4 separate regions of the Homo sapiens genome follow, and all the other regions are linked to region 1. The links are contacts of gene promoters, found by promoter capture Hi-C in blood cells and fetal thymus (Javierre and others, 2016). All regions are on one chromosome and are shown on one strand. The core of a region is centred on a gene start or on the middle of the fragment in contact, and the rest is flanking DNA. Distances in the headings are between cores, read along the strand shown.

What was found. Contacts are between HindIII fragments. The CHiCAGO score rates a contact against its expected background, and 5 or more counts as called.
Region 2: a contact is called between a fragment that was not itself captured here and the fragment with the promoter of EIF1AX-AS1 in region 1, in 1 of 17 cell types (fetal thymus). The highest score is 5.2, in fetal thymus.
Region 3: the fragment with the promoter of ZFX-AS1 here is called in contact with the fragment with the promoter of EIF1AX-AS1 in region 1 in 2 of 17 cell types (fetal thymus and total CD4 T cells); the score reaches 7.3 in fetal thymus.
Region 4: the fragment with the promoter of TXLNG here is called in contact with the fragment with the promoter of EIF1AX-AS1 in region 1 in 1 of 17 cell types (naive CD8 T cells); the score reaches 5.4 in naive CD8 T cells.

Annotation. Positions count from the first base shown.
Region 1 is chrX:20,137,355-20,144,335 of GRCh38, forward strand. It overlaps EIF1AX-AS1 (EIF1AX antisense RNA 1), which reads left to right and starts at 2,614. Exons shown (of 2, transcript NR_046592.2): 1 at 2,614-2,881; 2 at 2,981-3,090. EIF1AX (eukaryotic translation initiation factor 1A X-linked) reads right to left here and starts at 4,484. Exons shown (of 7, transcript NM_001412.4): 1 at 4,271-4,484; 2 at 1,185-1,268. The coding sequence starts at 4,286. RefSeq lists enhancers at 3,726-3,885, 4,216-4,485, 4,546-4,595. The HindIII fragment of the contact is 4,524 bases long and covers 2,190-6,713 here.
Region 2 is chrX:15,671,464-15,678,444 of GRCh38, forward strand. It overlaps CA5BP1-CA5B (CA5BP1-CA5B readthrough), which reads left to right and starts at 3,995. Exons shown (of 12, transcript NR_160544.1): 1 at 3,995-4,315. It also overlaps a transcript of CLTRN not described here and the pseudogene CA5BP1. RefSeq lists enhancers at 2,924-3,427, 3,660-4,278, 3,951-4,070. The HindIII fragment of the contact is 2,652 bases long and covers 1,799-4,450 here.
Region 3 is chrX:24,145,703-24,152,683 of GRCh38, forward strand. ZFX-AS1 (ZFX antisense RNA 1) reads right to left here and starts at 3,952. Exons shown (of 3, transcript NR_046657.1): 1 at 3,853-3,952; 2 at 3,051-3,140; 3 at 523-749. It overlaps ZFX (zinc finger protein X-linked), which reads left to right and starts at 4,027. Exons shown (of 10, transcript NM_003410.4): 1 at 4,027-4,092; 2 at 5,989-6,098. RefSeq lists enhancers at 3,364-3,463, 3,670-4,483 and silencers at 3,574-3,933, 3,994-4,403, 4,424-4,473, 4,524-5,033. The HindIII fragment of the contact is 5,789 bases long and covers 1-5,762 here.
Region 4 is chrX:16,783,304-16,790,284 of GRCh38, forward strand. It overlaps TXLNG (taxilin gamma), which reads left to right and starts at 3,163. Exons shown (of 10, transcript NM_018360.3): 1 at 3,163-3,286. The coding sequence starts at 3,185. LOC124905250 (a long non-coding RNA gene) reads right to left here and starts at 2,963. Exons shown (of 2, transcript XR_007068398.1): 1 at 2,767-2,963; 2 at 2,357-2,660. RefSeq lists enhancers at 2,559-2,758, 2,730-3,462, 5,505-6,005 and a silencer at 3,509-3,948. The HindIII fragment of the contact is 8,203 bases long and covers 1-6,981 here.

The DNA.
Region 1 (6,981 bases), core at 1,364-3,863:
AGAATGGCGTGAACCCGGGAGGTGGAGCTTGTAGTGAGCCGAGATCGCGCCACTGCACTCCAGCCTGGGCGACAGAGCGAGACTCCATCTCAAAAAAAAAATTAAAAAATCCCACATATATATTTCTTTATATGTGTGTGTACAGATGAAGGATTTAAGGGAGTTTGTTGCACTAATACTGCAACTTTCTGTAGGTTTGAAATGACTCGAAATAAAAGTAACAGGAAAGGGCAAACGATCCAGTTAGGATTTATTTGACTAGTGCTATGTATCTTGGTCTGGCACTTACAATATTCTTCAGTCTAATAAAATCAGTTAACTGTTCAGTTTCATTTTATTGTAGTTTACGAAGTTATATGCTAATGGCACTGGAGAATGGAGAGGTCTATAAGGGCCTCAGGCTCATCCTTCAAATGTCCATGGTCTACTCAACATATTATATGTACCATTCACTACCAGAAATGCTAATCATAGAACTGCCAACTAAATCACAGAACTGTCAACCATAGCTCAATTCCCTCTGAACTATACGACACATTCTTAGTTCCCAGTACTTTGGGAGGTCATGGTGGGAGAATCACTTGAGCCCAGGAGTTCGAGAATAGCCAGGGCAACATATGAAGACCTCATCTCTATACAGTTTTTTTTTTTTTTTTTTTTTTTTTTTTGAGACAGAGTCTCCCTCTGTCACCCAGGCTGGAGTGCAGTGGTGTGATCTCGGCTCACTGCAACCTCCGCCTCCCAGGTTCAAACAATTCTCCTGCCTCAGCCTCCTGAGTAGCTGGGATTACAGGCACGTGCCACCACACCCAGCTAATTTTTGTAATTTTAGTAGAGACGGGGTTTCATCATGTTGGTCAGGCTGGTCTCGAACTCCTGACCTCGTGATCCGCCCGCCTTGGCCTCCCAAAGTGCTGGGATTACAGACGTGAGCCACTGCGCCCAGCCTAAAAAAATTTTTAAAATTAGCCAGACGTGGTGGTGTGTGCCTGTAGTCCCAAATACTCGGGAGGCTGAAGTGGAAGGACTGCTTCAGCCCAGGAGGTCATGGCTGCAGTGGGCTGTAATCGTGCCACCACACTTCACCCTGGGCGATGGGCAAGACGCTGTCTCAAAAAAATAAAGTCCCCAGCTAAAAAAGAAAGGATGTTATTTTAAAAAGCGTAATTTATGAAAACACTTACCCTGACCATCCTCTTTGAATACCAGTTCTCTTTTTTCAGATTCATTCTCATTCTTACCCCTGCGTCTGTTTTTACCTCCTTTACCTGATGGTTTAAAAAAAAGAAAAGGAGGTAAATGACATTAATTATCTGTAAAACAGTATGAAATAAAATGAAATTAAGGCTTATAAAACCATTTTTTAAAAGATCACTTAAATTAAAAAATTCATCTATTTTAGCTACACAATCATATTAAATTTACAATCTCCAATCCCAACATTAACACATTATCACCTCCCTACCCTTCTTGGAATTTCCTTTGGGGATTTTTCTGACATAAAATACACATAAATAGCAGATATTATGTTAAAAAATATAGAAAAACATTTCACTTTAGCACCCATCCTTTTGAAATAAAAATGCAATTCTATACATATTCTTCTAAGCGGAAATCTTGGGTGTCTTCTAAAGCCAGGCCCTATGCAAGGAACCCGATACTTTCAAAATTAAGTGAAGACAGTGTCTGGACAGAGAACTGTGGTTTTCAAACTTTTGGTAGCAGAGTACCATAAATATTGAAATCTCACTGGGTGCAGTGGTGTGCGCCTAGGGTCTCAGCTACTCAGGAGGCTCAGGTGGGAGGATCACTTGAGCAAGCCCAGGAGGTTCCAGGCTAGCCTGGGCAACATAGCGAGACACTGTCTCTTAAAAAATAAAGAAGATCTGTTCGGTACCCAATTTACTTTCTTTTATAATGCTGGTCCCTACTCAACATCCCTGTTTCTATTATATGACCCCAGTGACCATGCTCTTAACCACTATGCAATAATTCTGCCCATTTACTTGTCACAATCACCCCATGAGGTCATAACATTCATTTATTCCCAGTTTACCCATGAGTTCCCTGAAGCTCAGAGAAGTTAAGTAAGTCGCTTAGCTTCAGTGAGTAAATCAGTTCACTGATTACAGTCAGTAAGCTGGGGTGACCAAAGTCACAATGTTTTTTTTGCCCCTAGCCCCCACATAAGCTTACCTCTCCACAGCATTTTGCTCCCATTCCAGAAAGGAAACCACATTGGCAGCCATTTCCAAAAGGCAGGAAAAAGGCTGTAAGTGGTAATGACCCTAAGAGACTCATGGGAAGAGCTTGGAAGCAGCAAAAAAAAATGGAGGACACTTAAATTAGGTCATGAAAAGTACCATTCCTCTAAGTAAGATAACTAAGAACTGATTGGTTTCAGACAGTACAGGAATGATAAACACCAAACTCAGCCTGGTGATTACCTCCAAAAAGAGAGTAAAAGGTGATTAGGGCTTTACCTCAATCTGCGCTGTAATTCTTAAATTCAGAGTAATGGGTTCCCAGGTATATCATGTTAGCTGTATTTTTTGTATGCCTCAAATGTTATTTAAGAAAAGACTAATTACTTGTCAATTTACCAGAATTAACCATACCCGGATCACTCCCCTTTGTATTTTATTGCCATGTAATGGGATGTTCTTTAAATTCTCTGTTGAATGAATGAGACTAGGTCTGAGTGTACAACAATTAAAGTGACATCAACATTCTTTAAACCAGAGTTGTTTTGGAGAAATTCCCAGAGAGGCTCTTTCTTAAGACATGAGGCTAGGGAACTAGATGTGATTTAGTGTAGAAGTCCTATCCCCTTGGAACCAAAGCAGAACCTATTATTCACTAAGGGTGGAGTCGACAGGAGGTAGGTGACTTAAACCAACAAATATTTATTAAGCATCTACTAATTGTCAAGTGCTGGCAATCCAATGAGATTAAGACAGATACTATTCCTGCCTTGTAGAGCTTACAGCCTGGTGGAAGAATTGGAAATCTTATTACTAGAAATAAAGGTGAGAATAAGATGGAAGTGATCCCCTTACCACCTCAGAGAGAATAAAGGATTATACAGAAGAAAACTGTAAGACTTTAAAATTTTTTGTTTATAACTCCATCTTTTCCAAAATAATGAGCAGTGACTGCACCAACTTGTGCACAGAACACCTCGACCAAGTACCCTAAGGGATAAAGTAATAAGTGACAGCTACAAAGAGGAAATGTGGTAGAATCCCTGGAGCCAGCTGTCAAGTAGAAAAGAGAGCAGAAGTAGGCCTGTGTCAGGGGAGGGTTTCCTCTAGAATGAATAATCAAAGGAGACTACTTACGGACTATGAAGTATGCTCCTCTCCTGTAGGAAAATACAGTATTTTCCCTATATTTACTTGCACAATTTTCTTCAAGTTATACGGCTATTAAAAATGACAGGAACACTGTAAATCTATAAAAGTAATTTCTTTAGGAGTGTTCTGTTTTTTGTTTTTGTTTTTTTTTTTTTAAGATTAGGCCTTCCGTTTTGGAAATCCCAAATAAAGTTATCCTCAAGTCTGATCATTTGTGAACGCTTAGCCTCAGAATGGAGGACACTTAAATTAGGTCTTTATTCTCACAACATATGCATCATCTGAAGCAAAAGTAGAAAACTTGGCTCAATATGGAATAAGTCTTCAGCAAACAAACATAAGCTATATCCTGTAAAGGGATGGAGAGAGTAAATCTCTAGAGGTGAGCCTTAGAAATGTATCAAGGTTTCACCCACTGTTCACAAGGGACAGCGAGTAGCCTCAACAATACTGAACTGTCCATAAAGAAACCCATGCAGGAGTACCTGGTGCTCACGAATGCAGACAGCACTCTGAAAGTTCAGAACGGCTTCCAGGGATTATAACCCCTCATGCCCGGGAAGGCCAAAGGGGCCTATCTACTAAACCTAGGCCGCCCCGGGGAAGGTTCCCGCCACCGTCCCCACCGAGCAGCGGTCAGTCTGGCGCGAATCAGGAGCAAAAGCCCACATTCTCCCGCAGGAGGCCCTACAAAAATGGCGCCGGCTCCACCCCAATGTGACCAAACTGGGCAACAGGAGTTAACTTCCCAGCTCCTCTCCCGAGCTCAGAGTCGCGTGTGGGGCGCCCAGCCGCGGGCAGGCAGGGCGGGAAGGAAAAAGGGTCACTGCGGCCTGGGTGACCTGCAATCTACGGGCAGGACCTGGGAGACCCGGCCGAGCAGAGCCGTGGTCCGGGGGTCCGGGCGGCATTACCTTTATTCTTGGGCATGGCGGTGGCGGCGACCTCGCGGCGTCTCTGACTTCTTTCCGGGTAGCGGCGACCGCGGCGGCTGCTGCTCCGAGGGGCGACACGAGGGAGCGCGCGGGACCAAGTAGGTGCTGGAGGCCAGGCAACGTGCGCGGGAGAGGCTGGCGACCCAGCTCTTCAGAGATCCGCCTGCGTCCACGCTCGGCGGCAGCAAATGGCGCCGCGACTCTTTGCGTCGCTTTTCCCCGCCTCCCGTCGCCGGCTGGGCCCGCCCCCAGGCTTTATGACGCAGGCGTGGCCGACTGACTCCTATTGTTAGAGCCGAGGGAGACGCGTTGTGGGAGGGTGCGCAGCAAGCCAGAGAGGACGCGAGGGGCAGGGCCTCAAGCAGGGAAAAGGCGGAGTCAGGGAGGGAGGGGGAGAGACTCTGCGTCATAGAAAAGGGCGGGTTGAGGTGGCGCTTGCTGCTGGTTAAGACCAGACCTCTGCTGCTTTGTAGCAAACGCGCGTCTCCCGGTTTCACAAGTGGCTGACTCGTTAACCTCGTGGTTAGCTCAGTTTTTAAAAAATATGTATATTTTTATTTTTATTTTATTTTTTGAGACGGAGTCTTGCTCTAGAGTCGCCCAGGCTGGAGTGCAGTGGCGCGATCTCGGCTCACTGCAACCTCTGCCGCCCGGGTTCAAGCGATTCTCCTGCCTCGGCCTCCGGAGTAGCCGGGATTACAGGCACGTGCCGCCACGCCCGTCTAATTTTTGTGTTTTTAGTAGAGACGGGGTTTCAGCATCTTGGCTAGGCTGGTCTTGAACTCCTGACCACGTGATCCATCCGTCTCGGCCTCCCAAAGTGCTGGGATTACAGGCGTGAGCCACCGCGCCCGGCCAATATTTTAATTTTTTTATTAAGATGGAGTCTTGCTCTATCGCCCAGGCTGGAGTGCAGTGGCGCGATCACGGCTCACTACAACCTCCGCCTCCCGGGCTCAAGCGATTCTCCTGCCTCAGCCTCCCGAGTAGCTGGGATTACAGGCATGTGCCACCATGCCCAGGTAATTTTAGTACTTTTAGTTGAGACGGGGTTTCACCATGTTGGCCAGGCTGGTCTCGAACTCGTGACCTCAACTCGCGCCCACCTCGGCCTCCCAAAGTGCTGGGATTACAGGCGTCAGCCACCGTGCCCAGCCGGTTAGCTCATAACGCAGTCCTTTCACTCGCCCAGCCGGGTTGGGAGCCTGATGGGAAGGGCAAGGCTTTCCTGGCATCCATTACCAAAGCATAATATTTGCATGGCACTTGTTATTACTCTTTAAGTCTGTCTGTCCTACCTCACTGTAAACCTTACCGGGCAGAGACCATGTTTGTTGCTTACCATTACCCCCACTTAGCTGAATGTCTGGCACATAATAGGTGTTCAATACACACAGAAAGGAAGGGAGGGAGGGGAGAAAAGACTTAAGCTCAATGTTAATGGGCTGAATTGTGTCCCCCCCAAAATTCGTATGTTCACGTTCTAATCCCCAGTAACTCAATGTGACTGTATTTGGACATAAGTTCTTCAAAGACGTGATTAAATTGAAATGAGGTCATTAGTGTGGACCCTTATCTGACTGGTGTCCTTACAAGAAGATATTATTAGGCCACAGGCATAGAGGGAGAACACCACGTGAACAAGAAGGTAGCCATCTATAAGCCCAGGAGAGAGGCCAACCCTGTTGACGCTTGATTTTAGACTTTCAGTCTCCAGAACAATGAGAAAATAAATTTCTGTTGTTTAAGCCACTCAGTACGTGGTACTTTGTTATGACAGTCCTAGCAAACTAATACAGCTGGCTAATGCTGGGCTGTACTCTACAAGATTTATTTCTAAGTAAACTTATTTTGACTAAACCAAGTAAACTTATTTTAAATAAATCACCTTTCCACAAACACCAGGGTTTGCACATACTTAGAAGACAGAAATAAAGTATCATCATCTAATATAGTGGTTCTTTTCTGTGAACATTTGGCAGCGTCAACCAGAAATGTTTCTGGTTGTCATAACTTGAGGAGGGGGGCAGTGATGCTGGCATCTAGTGGGCAGAGGCCAGGGATGCGGCTAAACATCCTACAGTGCACAGTACAATCTCCCCTCCCCCATACAAGCAAACAATTATCCAGCCCAAAACATCAGCAGAGCTGATATTGAGAAACCCAATGACAGATGCACTTCTTAGAGTGAAATTGAAAGATAATGGGGGACTCAAAGTTCTGGGTTTCTCTTTCTATCTGCAATATTTTTCAATTTACATAATTGAGGATGAAAGGATTTTTTATGAAATTTATTTAAATTTTGCTCCAAGGTCAAATAATTATGAACTTGAGCTTTGGAGTTAGAGAGGCCTGGGTTCAAATTCAAGCTCTGCAGTAACTTATTACTCTATTTTCTTGGGCAAGTTTTAATCTCTTTACAAGCTTCCGTTTTCTCATCTGTAAATTGGATGTAGGAATAGTACTAACCGGCCAGGCGCAGTGGCTCACACCTATAATCCCAGCACTTTGGGAGGCCGAAGTGGGCGAATCACCTGAGGTCAGGAGTTCGAGACCAGCCTGGCCAAAATGGTGAAACCCCATCTCTACTCAAAAATTCAAAAATTAGCCGGGTATGGTGGCAGGCGCCTATAGTCCCAGCCACTTGGGAGACTGAGGCAGGAGAATCACTTGAACCCAGGAGGCGGAGG
Region 2 (6,981 bases), core at 1,875-4,374, 4.5 Mb before region 1:
GAGAGAGCATCAGTGTAGATGCATCTGAAAAGCCAAGTTGGGTTCTGATCTTAGAGGTCAGAGAGTCTGGATTCTCCAACAATGGTCCTGAGAGGCTAATGAAGATTTCAATGTGGGAATGGGTTCATTGTAAATGACACAGAGAAGGACAATGGGAGATGGGAAGGACATTCCCTGACAGTGAGTTTCCAATGTGCCCTTTATTTACTAATCACAGGCTGTTGGACTGGCAGCCCACTACGTGCCCATGACTACAAAAAACAGGAAATTATTTTTCATTGGCCATCTTAATAAAAAGATAAATGAGCTTATTTTAATAATAATTTTAGAATATAGAACAGATGATGTTACAATCTTTTGGTATGCTTAATTTTATGCGCGCACACACACACACACACACACACACACACACACACACACAATTTCCAGTATCCTTGGTAAGCAAGAAACTCTATAATGTGGAATATTTTTGTCTCCATCACATATATCCCCTTTTTAAGATGAGAAATCATATTAAGCAAGGATATTTGAAAAGCTCATCAAATTTTGTAGGTTAATCAGTAGCCATAATCATTATGAACTTTGTCTTATTCTTCACAAGTTAACATTTTTCTACTTCAGAGAAAGTTAATCACTACCGTTTGGAAATAAAAATTAATTCAGATCAACTGAGTGAGTGTAATTCTGCCAACTTTATGCTCCTAAAGTAGCAATTTAAAGGACAGTTTCTTAAATGGGAAAAAAAAAGTATGTGTGTCTGTGTGTTTCATCTTGTGCATGGAGACCAATGCTTTATAATGGGTCTCATGTAGTTAAAGCAAGACATTTCTTTTACAGGTTTAGCTGGTTCCACTGTTGCTCAGGTGTAAGAGTTTTCTCATGATTTGGCAAGTCAATTTTCTCTTTTTACTAGGCTAACAGTATTGCAGCCATGGTCTATGAAATAGTATTTTCCATCCTTAATCATCAATTTGCCCACCAGTTGGAGGTCACCTAGTCACATTTAGCCCTGACAACAGGTACTTCTTTTGCCAACCTCTATAAAGGGTGTGGGGGCGGGGGCGGGATCAGACCACATAACTTTTAGGTTATATGCTCTCATTAATATTAAAGACATATGAATTAATCAATATCTCAGAATTTCTGATCCTACGTTTCGGCCAGTGATGACCCTGAACCCTCTACTGTCTGAAATTCATCAAAAGTCTTATGAGAAATGTTTTTGTGGACTGCCTAAAAGATGTGCACAAGAGATCCCTATTACTACAAATCAGAGATGACAGGTTGTTTGCAGCCATTTGCTCATCCCACACCCATGACAAACATTTTTTATCTATTTCAGAACTTTTTCCTTCTGTGCATGGACTCAGCCACCCCAACTGAGCTATTCAGTCCACTAATATGAATAAATGGGAGTTGACATGTGAGTTGAAACTTATGTGCCATTATGGGGAAAGATTATCTAAATGCTACCCTGAATTAAACCAGACCATTGTGGGGCTGTGTACTCAGTCGAACAGGAAATTTTGGATGGTTCATGAAATTGATTCAGTGCCCTGTGCTTTGTGATTATGCCAACAGTTTCCATTGAGGGAATGTGGGTGTAACAACTTATGACACTTATTTCCCACGTAGCTCACAGCGTCATCATGATGAGGAACTGGGATTTGCCTTGGGGCTAAAAATTATTTTTAAAAAAACAAACAGTGCTTCTCAAAAGCAAACAAAATCCTGATTGATTGGTTTTTATGAACACCGTAAAACTTTAAAATACTTGTTATCTCCTGTTTTCTATGGAAGCTTAGAGTGAGATCTCTTGCCCACCTTCAAAAACTGTTCTGGATCTGAAAGTGTGCATACTTGAGTGTTAATCTTACCATTGGCTACATTATTTATTCTCCCTCCATGAATTTCCCCTCTGGTTCCTTAAACTATAATACTTACTTTATACAGTGTTGCCTATATTTTGGTACGCGGCCTCAAATCATCTGGGAGAAAATAATGCTATAAAAATCAATGCAGTAATTTACACAGGCTGCACTTGATCCCATTTCCGGTGTGTTTAATTTTTCATGCAAAAAATGATTAGCATTGGCAACATTTTATATAAATGAGATAGAGTTCTCAGAGCCAGGGTGAGCTTAATAAAAAATGTTTTGTTGAAAATTGTCTTTTACTCTGTGCTCCTTGTAGCTCAATATTGTGAAAGTTCCCACTGTCTTCAAAGCAGAAATGGATGGAAGGTGGGAAGAGAAAGGAACTTTTACACTTTATATGTGATCATAAAATCTTGATTACTGGCATATGTAGAAGTGTATATAGTAAATCTCACTGCCATGGAGGGAAAAATTGTAATCCTCTATACAAGTGAAAAGGGAATACTTTAAATGAAGATTGAGAATTTATTGTGAAGGGAGCTGTACTAACTGCTATGTAAGTGGCTTCCTATGTTTGCTGCCCCAAAATACTCCTGCTAATTAGAACAACAAACCAGCACTTATCAAGTCCTTTTCCACCTATCAACTCCTTTATTACACCATCTTTAATTTTCTCAATTCTTGTGCCATCTAAACTTGAGTTGGGGAAGCTCAGTCTGTGATCTCTTTGACTCTTGTCTTATTTCTTACTGGAACATAGTACTTGATAAATCTGTCTTGAATGAATGAATGAATGAATGGCTAATGGAAAGTGTCCATCCTCTAAGAATGTCCGTTCAGAAATTTCTGGACAGAAAAGCTGGTAATAACCTCCTCACTTTTTTCCTGTGAACCCAGAATTGCGAATGGAGGGAGTAAAAAAGCGTAATCTTGGAGCAGGGGGCTGCAAACAGAGGTCTGAATGTGGTGGTGTCTAGACAGGACCTAGAGAGCATTAGGGCACCAAGTGCCTAGGAAAAGTCATCAGGAGGACACATCAGGAAGTAGAGGAGTGTGCTTACTCCATGTATCTCCCTAGCATTTAAAGTCCGCTGACTTTAAATGGGCTGGAAGGAACACGGTTCCAGTTTATCTCCATATCGGGTTAAAGGACATGAAACCTAGCTAGAAGGAACATTGCTCCACCACTGGCCCATCAGTTCTGTTTCCTACTCGGTTTTTGCTTAACGAGTTGTGGTGTTTAGAGTTGGGAGATACATGGAGAAAGTCACTTTTTAGGAGAGGATCAGAGATCCGCAGGCTCATTTCACTCTATAAATGCCGCGGACATCTGGTTCCAGGACCTGGACAGTCCTCTCTGGAGACTGGTGGGCCCCTCCAACACCTCCGTGGCTTCCCGGGATCAAGTATCGCACCTAAAAGGAGCGCAGAGAGCGTGCAACTGGCGGGAGAGGCGTGACCAGAGTGGAACCAAAAGTGGGTGGCCTGGGAACCTAACGCGTGACCAGAAGTGAAGGTAGGTAAGTGCGCATGCGCAGGATGCGAGTGGCCAATGAGGACCACAAGGTTGTAGCGTGTGGCCTGAGAGGACGGCCAGGACTGGCCAGAAAAGAGAGGTGTGGAATGCAGTAAGAAAAGTGACGCGGACCAGAGGGGTCTTGCCTGTTCCGAGAGAATGGAAGGGGTTAGCCACGGTGGGAACGGCCACGGCGGGAACGGCCCCGCCAGTGAGGAGCGCAGGCAGCAAGGCTTAGCGGAAGAGGCGTGACCCAGGCGTACCGCAGGGGCGTGGCCCGAACGAGCTGACTTTAGCCCTTACGTGAAAGGCGTGGCGTAGTCGCAAGGGTGTAAAAAAGAAATTCGAATTCGCGGGACGGTCGGCCTCAGGCGGAGTAGGGACGTGAGCCCAAGGGAGGGAGGTGGGGTAGGCAGACTAGTTGTGACTGGATGATCACTGGGCGAAGGGTGGAAAAGTGGCCACAGATGGAAAGGCGGGCTGCGGAGTAGTGACCGGCAAGGGAGGTGGCGCGAAAAGGGAAGTAGGGACATGACGTAGTTGGAACGCAGAGACGTGCCTCGAACGTGGGGGGCGCGGTCCTTACGTGTGGGCGTGCCTTGTTGCTCTGAGGGGCGTAACAAAGATGGTGGAGCAGGCGGAGGGCAGAGGCGTCGGCAAGTTAGCGTGCAGGCGCGTGGCAGCGACAGGAGATGTGTAGCCAGAGCGCAGAGCAGGTGTGGACTCCGGCGCTGGGGAAGCGTGGCCAGGGCGAGATTTCAGCCTGGGTCGGGGACAGAATGGGGACTGATAGGGGCGTAACCTGGAATGACGAAATGACGTTTGCTGCGTAGGGACGTGGCTAAACGTGAGGGGGCGTGGCCAAGATGGCCGCGTGCGGGATCCTCGGGTACCGGGAGCGAACGAGGAGGTTCTGGCTCAGGTAAGTCGTTCGGGTAAGGGCGGGCGGCAGTAAGGAGCGTGGGCAGCAGCAGGGCGTGGTCTGCTTGAGAGGGCAGGAACTGTGCCACTTGCCGCAAACATGACCGCGTGCCGCTATCGGCCCTGGAGCCAGAGAAGCTTTTGGTGCGGCGAGGTTGGCCGGGGCCCTGGCGGGGCTTCTCTGAGGAATGGGAGTGGGAGGCTGGCGGCGGGGAAATAGCCACTTCCCCACTCTAGCCCTCTTTCTCCGCTATGGGGATCACCAGACATCCTTTTAGGATTCTGTCTATTAAAAAGTAGAACAGCTTTCCCAGAGACATTGCGGGATGAGAGGAGTGTCCAGAAACCAAGGAGCAGCAAGCTGGGACTCCCTCGGGTCTGCATTGTTGATATTCCCACCTGACTATGCTAGGGGCTATGGACAGACACAGCCACCCCAGAGTAGATCAAAAGCACAGTTGTGTCCCTTGGACAAATCTGAGTTTTTCTGTTGTGCCTTGCCCCAGAGCCGGAGGAGAGGAACCTCCAAAATGCAGACATTCTTGGTGGCTGGGATTCTGTGTGATATTCAGCGTTAAATGCTGCTGCTCTGAGGCTGCTGGAAACGCGTTAGTATTAATATCTGTGTACTTCTCTCACATTTACTTTTGCTGGAAAAGCTTGGGAAATGACTTAACGAAGATGCGTAAACCTTAATTTGTTTATATGCTCCTTATTAGCCACTGAATACCACATTGCTTTCTGCTTCCCCTTCTTCTTTACTGATAATCTGACCATTTCCACTATGCACTTTGAAAGTCTTGCTGGAGTATGGAGAATAGTCAGAAATCTCTGGTAAGATGCTGCCCCGCGCATCTCTCAGAGGAGTCACTATTCATAGCCTGCATCAGAGTTCACAATGAACCAAAGTTCACCCCACCTCCCCTGTCTTCAGGGACTTAGTGAAAAGCTGCACTGTTCTTGAATATTTTGGAAATGAAAAACTTTCTGGGCTATTTTAAATCAGTACCTGGGCTGGAATTAACCGAAAGGCGAAACAGCAAGGGCACCATTCTCTGTGCCTATACGTAGCTGCCCTGTGCTTGGAACCAAGCAAAAAGGCTGCCACTGCTCACAGTTGCAATGGAATAAAGGTTGAGTGCCTTGTGATTGCATATGAATATTAAGGAAATCTGATGGAAAGAGGGAAATTCATCATGTCACTGGCCACACTGGGGCAGTTAGTTGCAACACACAAATCAGGTATAATATATTTTGAAACCTTTGGCAACCTCAGATTGGGATCACACTCTCAAGGAAGAAGTGAGTGAGAGGAGGAAGCTAAGCTTTCTTAAGACATAGCAGCGTAATCTCTAATTTAAGTTTCAGGAAATTGCAAAAGGCAGGCTTCCTTTTGAAATCAGGAGTTGAGAAAATGAAGAGTCAATCTGATGCCAATCAAGGAATTTTTCAATATAATTGTAACCTTTTGTTAGTACTTTTCCTGTCTCTTTCGCATAAGTTGCTTAATCAGGCAGAGTTCAAGCTATGAGGCATTTAATAAATACATTACTTATGAATGACATTTAAAGACTTTTAGAATCTTTTCTTTTTTCACACATTTCTAAGGCTGCAAAACAACAGAAAAAGAACATGTTAGTAATATCCAAGGCATACATGAATAATCAGTGACAGCAAAGGATGTGTAGCACAGAAGGCTTAGCTCTCCTAGGCGGTATCCAGCCACACACTGGTAATTGTTGAAATGGAGTATTGGATATATAGATGATTTATTCTCACCATTTTTTTGTACAAGTTTGAAGTTTGCCCTAATAAGGGGAAAACAGATTCTAAATTCAGTTGACCCATGGACTATTGCTGTTTAAACCTGCTAAGTGAATTCAGATAGTGAAGTTATTTAAAAACCAGATGCTCTTACCTGGCTGCAGGAACTATCAAGATAAGATATTGAAAGCTTATTGGCAGTCTGTCTTTTAAATCCTGAGCCAGACTTTTTTACATGGCTTCAACAAGGTGATTTTTCATCTCCTTAGACATTTTGACATACACACTCCCACTAAAAACTGTATTTACACAAACACAGATAAAACTAAACAAAAGTGATTTTAACTTTGGTTTGAGAATTGTCAGCACCTTTTAGGCAACGCAGACATACTTTAGGTGTCACTGGCTGTTACGAGTTCAATTGCACCCTCCCATCTCAAACTCATATACGTTTAAGTCTTAAGCCCCAGTACCTCAGAATGTGACCTCATATGGAGATTGGGTCTGTATAAAGGTAATTATGGTCATTAGGGTGACCACTAGTCCAATATAACTGGTGTCCTTAATTAAAAGGGAAATTTGGACACAGACAAGATGAGAATGGCTTACGAAAATTGGATTTAATGCTGACACAAGCCAAGGAATTACCAGAAGCAAGGTTTATTAGGTGTTCTCCAGAGAAACAAAACCAATTGTGTGTGTGTATGTGTATATATGTGTGTGTGTATGTATGTATGTGTGGGTGTGCCTGTGTGTGTGCTTGTGCGTGTGTGTGTGTGTGTGTGTTTAGAGAGAGATTTATTTTTAAAAATTGGCTCGTGAATGTAGGCTCGTGAAATTTGCAGTGCAGGCCAGCAGACTGGAGACCAGGGAAGAATTGATATTACAGCCTGTCTTACTCAG
Region 3 (6,981 bases), core at 2,702-5,201, 4.0 Mb after region 1:
CTGCTATAAGGAGATGTTCCTGGCTTATCTTATACTTTCCTGCTCCAGCCCTGGAATCAATCACTTCTCCCTTTCCTTTGGTGGGAAACTGTAGAGGCCCCAACTTGGACACCAGGGGTGCTCACTGCTACTGCTCATTGTTTCTAGGCCTCTATATTGATTTTTTTATCTCTTTAGTGGAGCTAGTTTGTTTGCTGTGCCCTGTGATTTATAATCCATGAAGAATTTGGCTATTATTTTCAGGAATTAAACAATGTCTTGTTCGACTAATGACTCATGTAAAAAGCACTGCTTGAAAATCACCTATTTGCCAGTCATTGTTTATTTTAAAATTATTCTCCTTGGGGAGAGTGTGTGGCTTAAGGGCTCAGATGAAAAATTCTTACTTGGCATTAATTATGGCCAACTGAATTCCAACAGAAGATGCAACTTGCTCACGCTAAGTATAACCTAAGTATCAGGTGTCAGATAAATGGTTAATTTTTGTAGGGCATGCTTAGTTCAATAAAACTAGGGCCTTTCTAGGGGAAGATAAATATTTTTTAATGTTTGGGATACAAAAAAAAAAAAAGAATTACCACAACTTTATTCAAGAAGGTCTACATTTTCTCATAAGCCAATAATTTATTGCTTCTTATTTGAATTCCCATCAGTCTCCGATGTGGAGTGAAAATCAACAGCTTCTTTTCTGACTAATCTTTCTCTGGAAAAATGATTGAAAGGCCTTCTATCGTTTCTGGCTCAAGGACCTATAAACATGTCAGAGATTTTTAGTTAATTTATTAAAACACTGTCAAAACCTTGAGTAAATGCTTTTAACTATCTGATGTACATTAACAGCTCTGAAGGAACAAATACATTTTAGCACGTAATCAAAATTCCTTTTACTGCTTTGAAACCAGCTATTTTGTATTCATAGCATTCTCTTTTGAAATGTTCTGCTCTCGACCTCCCTAGATAAAATTTCCTTTTATTATGTTTACTTAAGTGAGAAAATGAAAGTACTTAGGAATGTTTTTATTTTGCCTTACACAGCCTCCTTATTCGAGTTCCCCAAGGGCAAGCACATCTTTGTTACTTCCTGTGCCCAGAATTCTAAAGGTCCCTAATACGAAAACAATTATCAAGGCAAGATAGGCTGCAGTAGGTCCTTTAAGTGCAAGATGTCTGGTGCTTAATTACCAAATGCTTTCAAGGATCTTAGGTGTCCTCAAGGTCCTATTGTGAGTACTTTCATAAAATGCATTTTGTATTTTGTCACATCAAACAATTTCTGATCTCTGCTGTTTACACTTCCTTTTCATCTTCACTTTATCATGAGTATAATACTAAGTGTACTTCTAGTGAAATGATTTTTACCATTGTTCTTTTACCAGTTAAACAATGTTCTTTACAGACTTCCATAAATGGGCTTAAAGTACAACTTTACCTTTTTTTAACTAAAAAAAATATAGTTGACCTTATCTGTATAGTCATCTATAAAATAACTGGACTTTATAAAGTTTGCTGGACTTTAATAAAGGTTTATCTAATCTAATAGAACTAGGCCATCCTTTCTTTGTTTCCCACCAAAGTTAACAGTCTCTTCCTGTATGAAAAGTAATGACAAAGGGCTCTTTGAAAGTATCAATCCCTAAACTACTTGTGATCTTTTAAACTGAGAAAACTTCTTTTTCTTTCATGCTCCTTGGACACTGTTTTCTTAAGTGCTTTACACTGGTGGATGTATAAGTATTTTTGATGGTAATTATGGAAAAACTAACAAGAATGGTGACATTAGGTTTTTCTGTCTTGAACATGCTGCTTACAGTTGCATGGATGAAGTGAGGCTCTATTCTTCTTCTTTTTTTTTTTTTTTAATAGAGACGAGGTCTCACCATGTTACCCAGGCTAGTCTTGAACTCCTGGGCTCAAGTGATCCTCTCGCCTCGGCCTCCCAAAGTGCTGTGATTACAGGACTGAACCAGGGAACCTGGCCTCCATTCTTGCCATACCGTAGCATCACACTGAGGCCCTTGGAAAGTACTTAAACGCTGATTATCAATGTTTTGAAATATTAATGTGGGCGGCCGGGCACGGTGGCTCACGCCTGTAATCCCAGCACTTTGGGAGGCCGAGGCGGGTGGATTACCTGAGGTCAGGAGTTGGAGACCAGCCTGGCCAACATGGTGAAACCCCATCTCTACTAAAAAAATAGAAAAATTAGCCAGGCGTGGTGGCAAGTGCCTGTAATCCCAGCTACTCGGGAGGCTGAGGCAGGAGAATCGCTTGAACCCCGAAGGCAGAGGTTCAGTGAGCCAAGATCACGCCATTGCACTCCAGTCTGGGAGTGCAAGAAATATTAATGTGGGCACACAAGCTATTTCTCATTTTTTTTTATTGAAACAACATTGCTTAGTTTCATTTACCTTTCTGTGAAATGTCTTTCTGTGAAAGTCTATCACAGCCTGATGTAATTTTTATAAACAATGAATACATGCTGTTACTATTTTTGAAAGGAAATTTAATCGCTTGGAAAAATTCAGACTAAAGCCCCGAGAGGAAAATTATCATCCAGTGCATGCTCAGAGATTTCTTCTTACTCTACTTTTGTTTTTCCTTTTTGAAAGCATTTGTGATTGAGAGATGTCTGAGGGAAGGGACAAATTGCATTCTGGGAGTTTTAAAGAGTTATGTCAGGCAACTAAAATACGTGGCCTCTGTATTTAAAGAGATTTCACACCAGTATACTATTTGCTTTATAATTTTTGTGTTTCTTATTGTTTAAAAATGCCTTTAACATTTAGTGCTGTGTTAAAGGATAGCATGCCAGATTCCAGATTAATGTAAAGACTCCACTATTTAACTTTTCCCTAGTAACTTTAAAACAGAGTTTGGGTTCCAAGTTCAGCATGGAAAGATAGCATAAACATTTAAACTAAGTAAAGTGCGAAATACACATTTTTGAAGTTGGTAAGTGCTGTTTAATCATTTTCCCCTTCTCTCCCAAGTCTTTTGAAACTTCAAAAGGCTTGTTTAAGCAGTGTGTTTAAAAAAAAAAAAATCCATACCCAATTGGGCTCCTCTCTATTAAGGAATGTGGAAAATTCATGATTTATGAAACGATGACACCAGTCTTACATTTCACAGGCTCCCAAGCTCTGAAACACGGGTACATAGGAAAATACACAGAAAATTCCTGTTCTTTGCAACGTGCGAAACGTTTCAAAATGCAACTTTGCTCATCTCCCTCCCCCGTACAAACTAATAAAATCAGTTTGGCTCTGACTGCTTATTTTTAAAAAGTAGACGGCCTGGTAGGTGCTCTAGGGATAACCCTTCTCCCCCCACTCCACCCCCCTTCCCGCACACCCATTTAGACTGGCAAGCCCGTTTTCATTTTATTTCAAAGATTTTTTTTTTTTAAGCGAAGGCAGGGGACGGCGGGGGTTGCTAAATTTATCTTCCTCCCCAGCCACGGGGATGAAGAAAACACATTTACTGCGGGCGGGGGTCTGAGGGCCTGCAAACAACTCGAGCTGGAGCCTCGGCCAGGACCGGCGCGAGAGGCGGTAGGTCTCCAGGGAGGCCCCCGGGGGGCGGCCGCGGCCCACGGGACATGGTGGGGGGCGGCCGGGCCGCCTGCCTCTCCGCGGGGTCGGCCGACCGCGGCCCCGCGCGGGCTTTACGGCCGAGGCGGCGGCGGCAGCGGCGCGTGTGTGGCGGCGGCGGGCGGGAGCGCGGAGGAGGTGGAAAGAAGGGGGGCGCTGTCACGGAGACTCCGGCCGCCGGAGACCCCGCCGCAGCGAGGCCACTGGGCTCCCCGGTCGCGGGGCGGGAGCGGCGCCGACACGGGGTGCCAGGAGGACCCACCGGGCGGAGGAGGGGGCCTGTCTACCCTTCCGCATTTTCCTGGGTCTCTCTCCCGGGCGGTGACGTGACGTGCTGACGGCGGGCCCGTGCCGGGGAGCTGGGCCGCTTTTTGTCAGCTCCGAGCTCGGCCCCTCCTCCCTCCCTCCGCCCGCCCCACCAGCCGGAGCCCGGCCCAGTGCTCCAGAGAAAGGCCGGCCTGCAGCACCCGCCACCGTCGCCGGCCGCCCGCACGTCCGTCCGGTGAGTCCCGGGTGCCGCCGCGGCCGCGGGGCCTAGTGCGCGCACAGCGGCCTGGTCTCGGCCTGGTCGGCGGCCCGCAAGGCGCCCTCCCGCGCTAGGCCGGGCGGCGTGGCGCGCGGCGCCGAGCAGGCCCCGAGGAGGCCGCAGTTAGGCCCGGGGAGGAGCCCGGCTGCCCCGAGCGGCGGCGGAGGCGCGCTCCGTAAGCGGGCGGGGGTTGGGGGAGGGTCGCCCGGTTGTGCCGGAGGCGGTCGAGGGGCCCCGGGTCGGCTCCGCGGCCGACCTGGGGCACCGCGCCGGGGTGAGGCCTGGCGAGGAGGCGAAGGCTGCAGGCGTGAGGTGAAGGCCGCAGGCCGGCCGGGCCGATTTTCGCTATGTAAATATCGGTGAGGGGGGGGGAGGGACGGGGGACAAGATGGCGGCGGCTCGGCGCCTGCTGCAGGGGACGATAGAGGGGGTTGCCGGGAGGGGGAGCCGCCATCTTGGAGGCGGTGTCTGGAGAGAAAATTCCGCTACAGCCCGTGAGGGGGGGTGGGAGAGCGGGCGGCGGCGGCAGCGGCGCCGGTGACGGGCCCCGGAGGCCCGGCGCGGCGGCGTGTGCGCGCGGAGGGGCGTGCTCGCTCCCCGTGGCGGCCATTGCCCTTGCCGCCATGATGAGCGCTCGGGCTCCAGGCGCTCGGCGGCAGCGCCACCTTCCTGCCTTGCCTCCCGCAGCCCCGTGACTGGCTGCAGTTTCCGCTGCGTTTCAGCTGAGCTGCCGCAGGCGGCCACCGCCGCCGCCCGGACGCCGGGACCGTTTCACCCTCAGCGCCCCTGGCCCTGCGCCTTCCCCCGCGCCTGTAGCCACCCGAGGGCAGTCGGGGCAGGTGGCATTCCGGACACCTGGGCTTACCAGGGCATACGGGACCCCAGGAAATGTTATTTTTGCTTAAGTCAAATCATATGTGGCTGCTAAGGTGCTTTCGATGCAGTTGTTTTTCCAACAATCTTTGCCGCCCCGAGTATCTGAATAAAGGAAGAAAAATAAAGATTGATGGGAAAGTTTTTGCCATTCTTTTGTCCTATAGGGAAAAAAATTGCACAACACGAGAGCGGAGGAATAAAATTTTGAATCATTCGTACTCATTTATGTGGAAACAACTTTCTTGAAAAACGATTTAAGTAGTGATCTGTTGGTGGTATTTTTTTAAATCGAGGAATAAGGGCAGACTTTTTTATTTTCTTATTGGAGGACAACTTAGTGTGGTGCATATTTATTGTGCATTTGCCTGTCATGGTATTTCGATTTTTCATTTGTGAAGTTTTAAGGCGGAGTTTCATCCCCTAACGTACTTTTTTGATTGCACACTGTGCAACTTTCTTGATAAACTCGGAGCCTACTGTTAGCGATGCACCGTGCTAGATGCTAAGAAACATTAAAAAGGTTCTTGTAATGCAGACGGTGGCTGCAAGAAGTCTCATGTTTAGAGGTAGGTGGGGCAAGGTGAAATGCAGTAAAGTGAGAGGTACAACTAATTACTGGGATTTCCGAGGGAAGCAAGGTTGCCATTGGAGGATCAGGGAGGGACGGGTTCCTGAAGTATTAATAGGTGGCATTTTGAGAAGGTTACCGAGGGATGGGTAGGACTTTGTTAGGTAGAGGTGGAGGTGGAGAAAGGACGTTTCAAGGGTGAAGCTTCTTCAGTAAACAGTAAGTATTTACAGTTTGGCAAAAGTGGATGGTATAGGTAGGGGAGTGGTGGGAATTCAGGCTAGAAAAGTTAGATTGCAGAAGGGCTTGCTTGCCAGGTGGAGGGGCTTATACTCAATGGGGTAGGCAGCGGGGGTGCCCTCAACTAGAAGAGTGATGGCACACCTGAGCTGCACCTTGTTATTTACTTATTTTTTATTTTGAGACAGGTTCTTGCTATATTGCCCCAGGCTGGTCTCGAACTCCTGGGCTCAAGCCGTTCTCCCGCCTCCCACTGCCCGCCTGTCACTGCCGTCTGTTCCCTGAGCTGTGCTTTACGGTACTTAGTAGTTCCATTGGACTAGGAAAAGTTTCAAAGTTGAAAAATAATGAGAGTAGTAAGTTGATCAGTGTTTTCATTATCAGAACGATTACAAGAATGTTCAGAAGTTAAGCAAATTTTGCTACTTTTGGAACGATGCGTCTCTATTAAGACAGCTGCTCCTTTTTTCTATCCTGATTTCTCATCCGAAATAATCTTTTGCTCAGAGTTGTCAGAATTTCTATGGTACACAAATAGGGAGGGGTTTCTAACATTTCATTTACCATGGTTGAAAAGTACAGGACTAGTGCTGTGGGTTATTTGACGAAAATGAGAAATGAGTATTCCCGTGGTAATTTTTTTTTTTTTTTGAGACTGAATCTCACTCTGTCGCCCAGGCTGGAGTGCAGTGGTGTGATCTTGGCTCATTGCAACCTCTGCCTCCCGGGTTCAAGTAATTCTCCTGCCTCAGCCTCCCGAGTAGCTGGGACTACAGGACCCTGCCACCATGCCTGGTTAATTTTTGTATTTTTAGTAGAGACAGGGTTTCATGTTGGCCAGGCTGGTCTCGAACTCCTGACCTCAAGTGATCTGCCTGCCTTGACCTCCCAAAGTGCTGGGATTACAGGCATGAACCACCGTGCCCTGCCTGTTTCCTAGAATTTTATGATGGAAACCTTTAGGTGGCATAGATACCCATTTTCAGTTTTTCCATTTTTCTAGACTGTAACAGGTCGTGAGCAGCGGTGCTCCATGAAAGGGCTGGAGGGAATGAGAGTCTCATGTTTATTATAAAGGGCTATGGTTTAGAAAAGTTCGAGAAACAGTGCATTGCATGAGGCTGACTAGAAGCAAGTTGAGAAGGCGGGCTGTGGTTGTTGAGGTGTTAAGGGTAAACATA
Region 4 (6,981 bases), core at 1,913-4,412, 3.4 Mb before region 1:
TCCCCGAGTAGCTGGGACTACAGGCACACGCCACCATGCCCAGCTGATTTTTTTTTTTTTTTTTTGTATTTTTAGAAGAGACGAGGTTTCACCATGTTGGTCAGGCTGGTTTCAAACCCCTGACCTCAGGTGATCCGCCCTCCTCTGCCTCCCAAAGTACTGGGATTACAGGCGTGAGCCACAGCGCCCGGCTTTTTTATTTGATAACTTTATTTATTTAGAGACGAGGTCTCGCTTTGTCGCCTACGCTGGTTTCAAACTCCGGGGCTCAGGCGATGCTCTTGCCTCAGCCTCCTAAACTGCTGAGATTACAGGTGTGAGCCACGCCTGCAGGCACAGTTAAAAGACAATAGTCCTGGCGCAAAGGTGAGATCAATGTAAACAGAACATTGGATGACCCTTAAAGTCTTGGACATAAAGAAAGGATAGGCCAGGCATTGCGGCTCAAGCCCGTAATCCCAGCACTTTGGGAGGACGAGTTGGGCAGAGGACGAGTCGGGCAGAGCACTTGTGGCCAGGAGTTTGAGAGCAGCCTGGCCAACATGGCGAAACCCCATCTCTACTAAAAATGCAAAAATTAGCCGGGTGTGGTGGTGCACGCCAGTAATCCCAGCTACTAGGGAGGCTGAGACACGAGAATTCCTTGAACCTGGGAGGTGCAGATTGCAGTGGGCTGAGATCATGCCACTGCACTCCAGCCTGGGCGACAGAGCAAGACTCTGCATTAAAAAAAAAAAAAAAAAGAGGCCAGGCACGGTGGCTCAGGCCTGTAATCCCAGCACTTTGGGAGGCCGAGGTGGACGGATCACAAGGTCAAGAGATGAAGACCATTCTGGCGAACGTGGTGAAACCCCCTCTCTACTAAAAATAGAAAAATTAGCTGGGCGTGGTGGGGCGCGCCTGTAATCCCAGCTACTTGGGAGGCTGAGGCAGGAGAATCACTTGAACCCGGGAGGCAGAGGTTGCAGTGAGCCGAGATTGGCCACTGCACTCCAGCTTGGGCAACAAGAGCAAAACTCTGTCTCAAAAAAAAAAAAAAAAAAAAAGATATGCATTTAATTCAATTAAATATTTTTCATTTCTCTGAAGGCTTGGGGTTAATGGCATAGTTCTTTTCTTTTCTTTTTATTTTTTGAGACGGAGTCTCGCTCTTGTTGCCCAGGCTAGAGTGCAATGGCGTGATCCCGGCTTACTGCAACCTCCGCCTCCCGGGTTCAAGCGATTCTCCTGCCTCAGCCTCCCTAGTAGCTGGGATTGCAGGCACGTGTCACCACGCCTGGCTAATTCTATTTTTAGCACAGACCGGGTTTCACCACGTTGGTCAGGCTGGTCTTGAACTTCTGACCTCAGGTGATCCGCCCGCCTCGGCCTCCCAAAGTGCCGGGGTTACAGGCGTGAGCCACCGTGGCCGGCCTCTTTCCTTAATAAAGATAACTTTATTGATTTTTTTCATTCCATACATACTTAAACAATATAGAAAATCATGAAATTTGAAACCAGCCTGGGCAACATAATGCCCCATCTCTAAAAAAAAATTTTTTTTTGAGGAATAACTTACTTTTGTGTGTGTGTGTGTGATGGAGTTTCTCCTCACCCAGGCTGGAGTGTTCAATGGCACGATCTTGGCTCACTGCAACCTCTGCTGCCCGGGTTCAAGCGATTCTCCTGTCTCAGATCCCAAATAGCTGGAATTACAGAAGCCCACCACCGGCTGGGGGCGGTTGCTCACACCTGTAATCCCAGCACTTTGGGAGGCCGAGGAGGGCAGATCAGGGGGTCAGAAGTTCAAGACCAGCCTGGCCAACATGGTGAAACCCCTCTCTCTACTAAAAATACAAAAATTAGCCCAGCGTGGTGGCACGTGCCTGCAATCCCAGCTACTCGGGAGGCTGAGGCAGGAGAATTGCTTGAACCTGGGAGGCGGAGGTTGCAGTGAGCTGAGATCGTGCCACTGCACTCCAGCTTTGGGTGACAGCAAGACTCCGTCTTGGGAAAACAAAAACAAAGAAAAAAGAAAAGCCCACCACCACCACCATGCCCGGCTAATTTTTGTATTTTTAGTAGAGACGGAGTTTCACTGTGTTGGCCAGGCTGGTCTGGAACTCCTGACCTTGTGATCCACCCGCCTCGGTCCCCCAAGGTGTTGGCATTACAGGCGTGAGCCACCGCGCCCGGCCTCATAATGAATTATTTAAGACAATATATCAGGATTTCATGATGGTCTGTGCCTTTCAGAAGCTCGGCCATTGGAGATCTGGTTCCATCAGATGGAAATAGGGAATATTCCTGAGGAAATCTCCCCTCTCCCCCCCAACATCATATCAATAAAAAAAAAAATTCGGTTCAGCAAACCGAGTTTGTTGAAAAAATTTAGGTAATGAAACGAGTAAATGGGGTGGGAGAAAGCAGGATACATTCAACATGAATGAAGTGCCAAGTAAGTGTGCAGAAGCCGGGGCGGTTCAACCAAGGTGAATAGAATGCGGCACCTATCCCGCGGGAGCTCGGGACAAGTAAACCGTGGTAACAACTCTGGTGGAGGGGCAGGGCTCGGGGCAGGTGCCCGAGCACGAAACTTCAAATTCTAAGAGCCAATACACCTTCCGTCTTGAAAGTCGTGAAGTATTTTCCCTTATCCCCAAATCATTCGCGCCCAATTCCTAAGAACGGCAACAAAAACAAAAACACAAGAATGTGTCGCCGATCGTGCTCCTTCTCAAACACGGGGATATTTCTAAACTTTCCGCGAAAGATCATAACGAGTACCTTCCTATAGCCAGACATCGCCCCCAGAAACCGCAAGTCCCACTAGGATGCACACGAAGCACACTGGGTGCAGCACTCTCCCCTTTTCAGAACGCCGCCTTATGTCCCAATCCCGATCCGAGCCTGCGAGCTGTGGCCGCACGCCCTGCTGGGACTTGTAGTCCACTCCCGAGTCCCATTCCCGATCCGCGCAGACTCACACGGCCTCTATCTGCCCTTCGGTCTTGCTGAAGCCCAGCCCAGTATTCAATGCTCCCCATCCCCATCTCGCTCCGTCCCCTCGGGGGCCAACCTCCTCCGGTCACGTGGGAAGTCTCACATGCGGCGATTGGTCGTGGGGGCTCGGGGGCGGGGCGAAAGGCCCTGCGAGATTCTGTGCCCCTTGTCGGGCCGCTTGTTTGGCTGCTGCCGTCACCTCATGGCGACGCGGGTAGAGGAGGCAGCGCGGGGAAGAGGCGGCGGCGCCGAAGAGGCGACTGAGGCCGGACGGGGCGGACGGCGACGCAGCCCGCGGCAGAAGGTCAGTCAGGGGGACGCCCTCGTTGTTGTCGGGCCCGGGGGATGTTTGGGCTCCCTTTTTCAGGGTCCACCTCTTCTCTCTCCCTGGTTACCTATAGCCACGGGACGAACATCCGGTCTTCTTCCCTCCCGGGGGTGACGACAGTGGGAGCAGGTGGGGGGGGGTGGGACCGCGATGGATGGGGTGGGAAGGGACGACGGTTGGGGTTTGGCGGCGCGCGGCGGGGAAGCCGGGAGGGAGGGCAGGGGGCGCACGCGGTTCTAAGGGAGAAGGGGTGCGAGGCGGGGGTGCGCCAGGTGTGACAGCCACGTGCGGCCAGCACCGCGGGGATCCGGGCGCCAGGCGTTCCTTCTCCCAGTCACCGCCGTCACCGTGCTCCCGGCGCTGAGCGCCGCCGTCCGGGGGCTCGCTGGGGTCGTGGGCTCGCCCTCCTGGCGTCGGGCAGGTGCGCAGGGCGCGCTGCGGGGTGCCCCCGGGCTGCTCAGGCTAGGCTGTTGCGCAGTAAGATAACCGCGCGGGAGCCGGGGTGTGCTTGGCCCCCCTTCCCCCGCCCCCCTGCGCTCCCCGCCACTGCGCGGGCGGGCAGGCGAGCGGGTGAGTGTCGCAGGGCCGGTGCGAGCGGGACGCTCGGCCCCCGGGACCTAGACCCCGGGGCTCCGAGGGCTTGGCTGCACGTGGGGCCGGGGATGGATGGGGAGGCGATGCTGGAGGACCTCGGTCCTGCAGAGTTGGGATATCGCATGATAGCTGGTCCTCCCAGTCCTATTTACCACCCTCCTCTTTTTTCCCCTCTTTTTTTTCTTTCATTTATTATTTTTTTAATTTGATGAGTGGAAACTTGAATGCCTTCCCGACCCTGGCCTTGGGTCTTTCTTAATCTGGGAAACAGGCCGGACTGTTCCCCTTGCCTTACTTGACTCACGTCAAGGAGTTTTCAGTCCCTCCCTAGATACAGGAAAATTGAGACCTCTTTCAGAACGGGACAATTCCACTTGTTCTGGAGCTCAGTGGGTGGAGTTTGAAAAAGATTGCACAACGAACGGGGTACAGGGTTTTCGGGGCCCTGGAATGGATAATTGCGGGGACTGAGACTGGGAAGGTGGGAACCCCATCTCTTTTTTTCCTTGCAGGTGAACATACTGAAACGTTCGACTTGTTGGATATCTTGCTTGATCACCGAGGGCTATTTAATATTACTTAATTATGTATTTGAACACTCTTAACTCCTGTATGAAATTACGAAATAATATTTTTCTAATGCAATTCATAAACTTCAAATGGGAGAACAAAGGTCCAGTTTACGTCTGAGCAGAGTGTTAAGAATTAGCTTTTTGGGGCCTGTTTCTAAGGTCAGGTATTTTCATGTTTCTGCATGACAGTGTTACTACTTCTCAATTACCTCTCTTTCTTTCTCTCCCTCTCTTTGTATTCTAAAAGAAAGATCCAGTGCTTGCAGGACTGAAAAAGAAGCTGTGGACCAATGTCCTGTAAGGGATTCAACACCATCACTTTGGACACTTCACTTATTCCCTAAGGGTGGAGTGCCAATCTCAGTGTTTGATTTCGTAGGTTCCCCAGGGGAGGAGGACTCTGATAAAAAGCCACTGCAATTGAGGATATAAGTTCCCTTTTATGACACTGGGATAAGGACAAAAAGTCGTTGAATTAGGAACTGAGGTTTAATCAACTAGCATTTAAAATAACCAAGATAGGAGGTAATGACCCTTTGAGGTGCAGAGCTCTGGTTAACAGCTGGATAGGAATAGTCATGTGTGTGTCTACTCATTTTTGTTTATGTACCTCATACTCCATTCTTCTTTGCTTATGCTCTTCTGAGCATCTTTTTCTTTTTGATTTCTAACTGACAGTGACGGCATTCAAATACATGGTAAAATATTAATCTTTGAATTTTCATTTAACAAATTGGGTGAATTATCTTGTGTTTGCAAGAATCATTTTTAAGCCAGCTATGGTGGCATGCACCTGTAGTACCACCTAGTCAGGAGACTGAAGCAGGAGGCTAGCCTGGGCCGCAGAGTGAGACCCTGTCTCTTAAAAAAACAAACAAACTTGTTGTGTTTTTTTTTTTTTTTTTTGAGTCAGAGTCTTGCTCTGTTACCCAGGCTGCAGTGCAGTGATGCAATCTTGGCTCACTGCATCTTCCACCTCGTGGGTTCCAGCGATTCTCGTGCCTCAGCCTCCTGAGTAGCTGGGATTACAGATGTGTGCTACCACGCCCAGCTAATTTTTATATTTTTAGTAGAAACAGGGTTTCACCATGTTGGCCAGGCTGGTCTTGAACTCCTGGCCTCAGGTAAGCCACCCACCTTGGCCTTCCAAAGTGGCGGGATTACAGGCATGAGCCACTGCAACTGGCCAAAAATTTTTTTAAAAATCATTTTTACATTACTTCATTGTGTCCCTTAATTTTAAAATTTCTTTTGGGTCACTGACTTGAAAAAATATTTCTTAATTCCAGCTTAACTTCTATCCTTTTTTTCAGGAAGCAGAAATGTTTAATGAATTGAGTTTTTTGAAAATATTGAAAGAATTAAAAGAAAAGTGAGTGTTTTGTCATTATCTAGTTACATTATGGGACCTGAAGTGAGGAACAATTGGAGATGGGCTTTTTTGGTTCCTGGTTGCTTTAACCATCTGCCTAGTCACTCGCGACCTGCTCAGTTAATTGTGGCATTGTTTCATAACTACAACCATTTGAATGGTCTCTTGAGGTAACCTTTTGCTTCTAAAGGTAATGTTACAGTACATTACTAGGGGTCTCTTCAGGAATTTTCTAAAACTGTGCTGATAGTAGCCACTAGTGACATGTAGCTAAATTTGTTAACTAAAATTAAAATTAAAAATTTTTTTCTTCAGTTATACTAACCAAGTTTCAGGTATTCAGTAGCCAGTGTGGCTAGTGGCTACTGTATTAGAGCAGATCTAGAATATTTTCATCATTGCATAAAAATTTTATCAGCATTGGTCTAAAAAGATGAGTACACAATATCTAGTATGTCAGGCATTTTTTAGAACATCAGGCTCATTCGTTTTACTTCCTAAATCCCTATGTAGAATTTGCTTTATAAGGTTGATTTAAAAAAAAATTAATAGACTTTTTTTGGGAATGGTTTTTAGTTTTACAGAAAAATTGAGTAGAAAGTACAGTTTCCATATACCCCCTCACACACACCCTTTCCCCCTATTATTATTATTATTTTTGAGATGGGGTTTCGCTCTTGTTGCCCAGGCTAGAGTGCAATGGCATGATCTTGGCTCACCACAACCTCCGCCTCCCGGGTTCAAGCAATTCTCCTGCCTCAGCCTCCCAAGTAGCTGGGATTACAGGCATGTGCCACCACGCCCGGCTAATTTTTTTTGTATTTTTAGTAGAGACGGGGTTTCTCCATGTTGGTCAGGCTAGTCTCAAACTCCTGACCTCAGGTGATCTGCCCGCCTCGGCCTCCCAAAGTGCTGAGGTTACAGGTGTGAGCCACTGCGCCCGACCCTTATCCCCTATTATTTACATCTTGCATTAGTGTGATACTTGTGTTAAAATTCATGAGCCAATATTGCTATATTATTATTGACTAAGTCCATAGTTTACGTTAGGGTTCACTCTGGTGCTATATATTCTATGCATTTTGACAAATGTGTAGTGACATGGATCCACGATTATAGTATCACACAGAAGA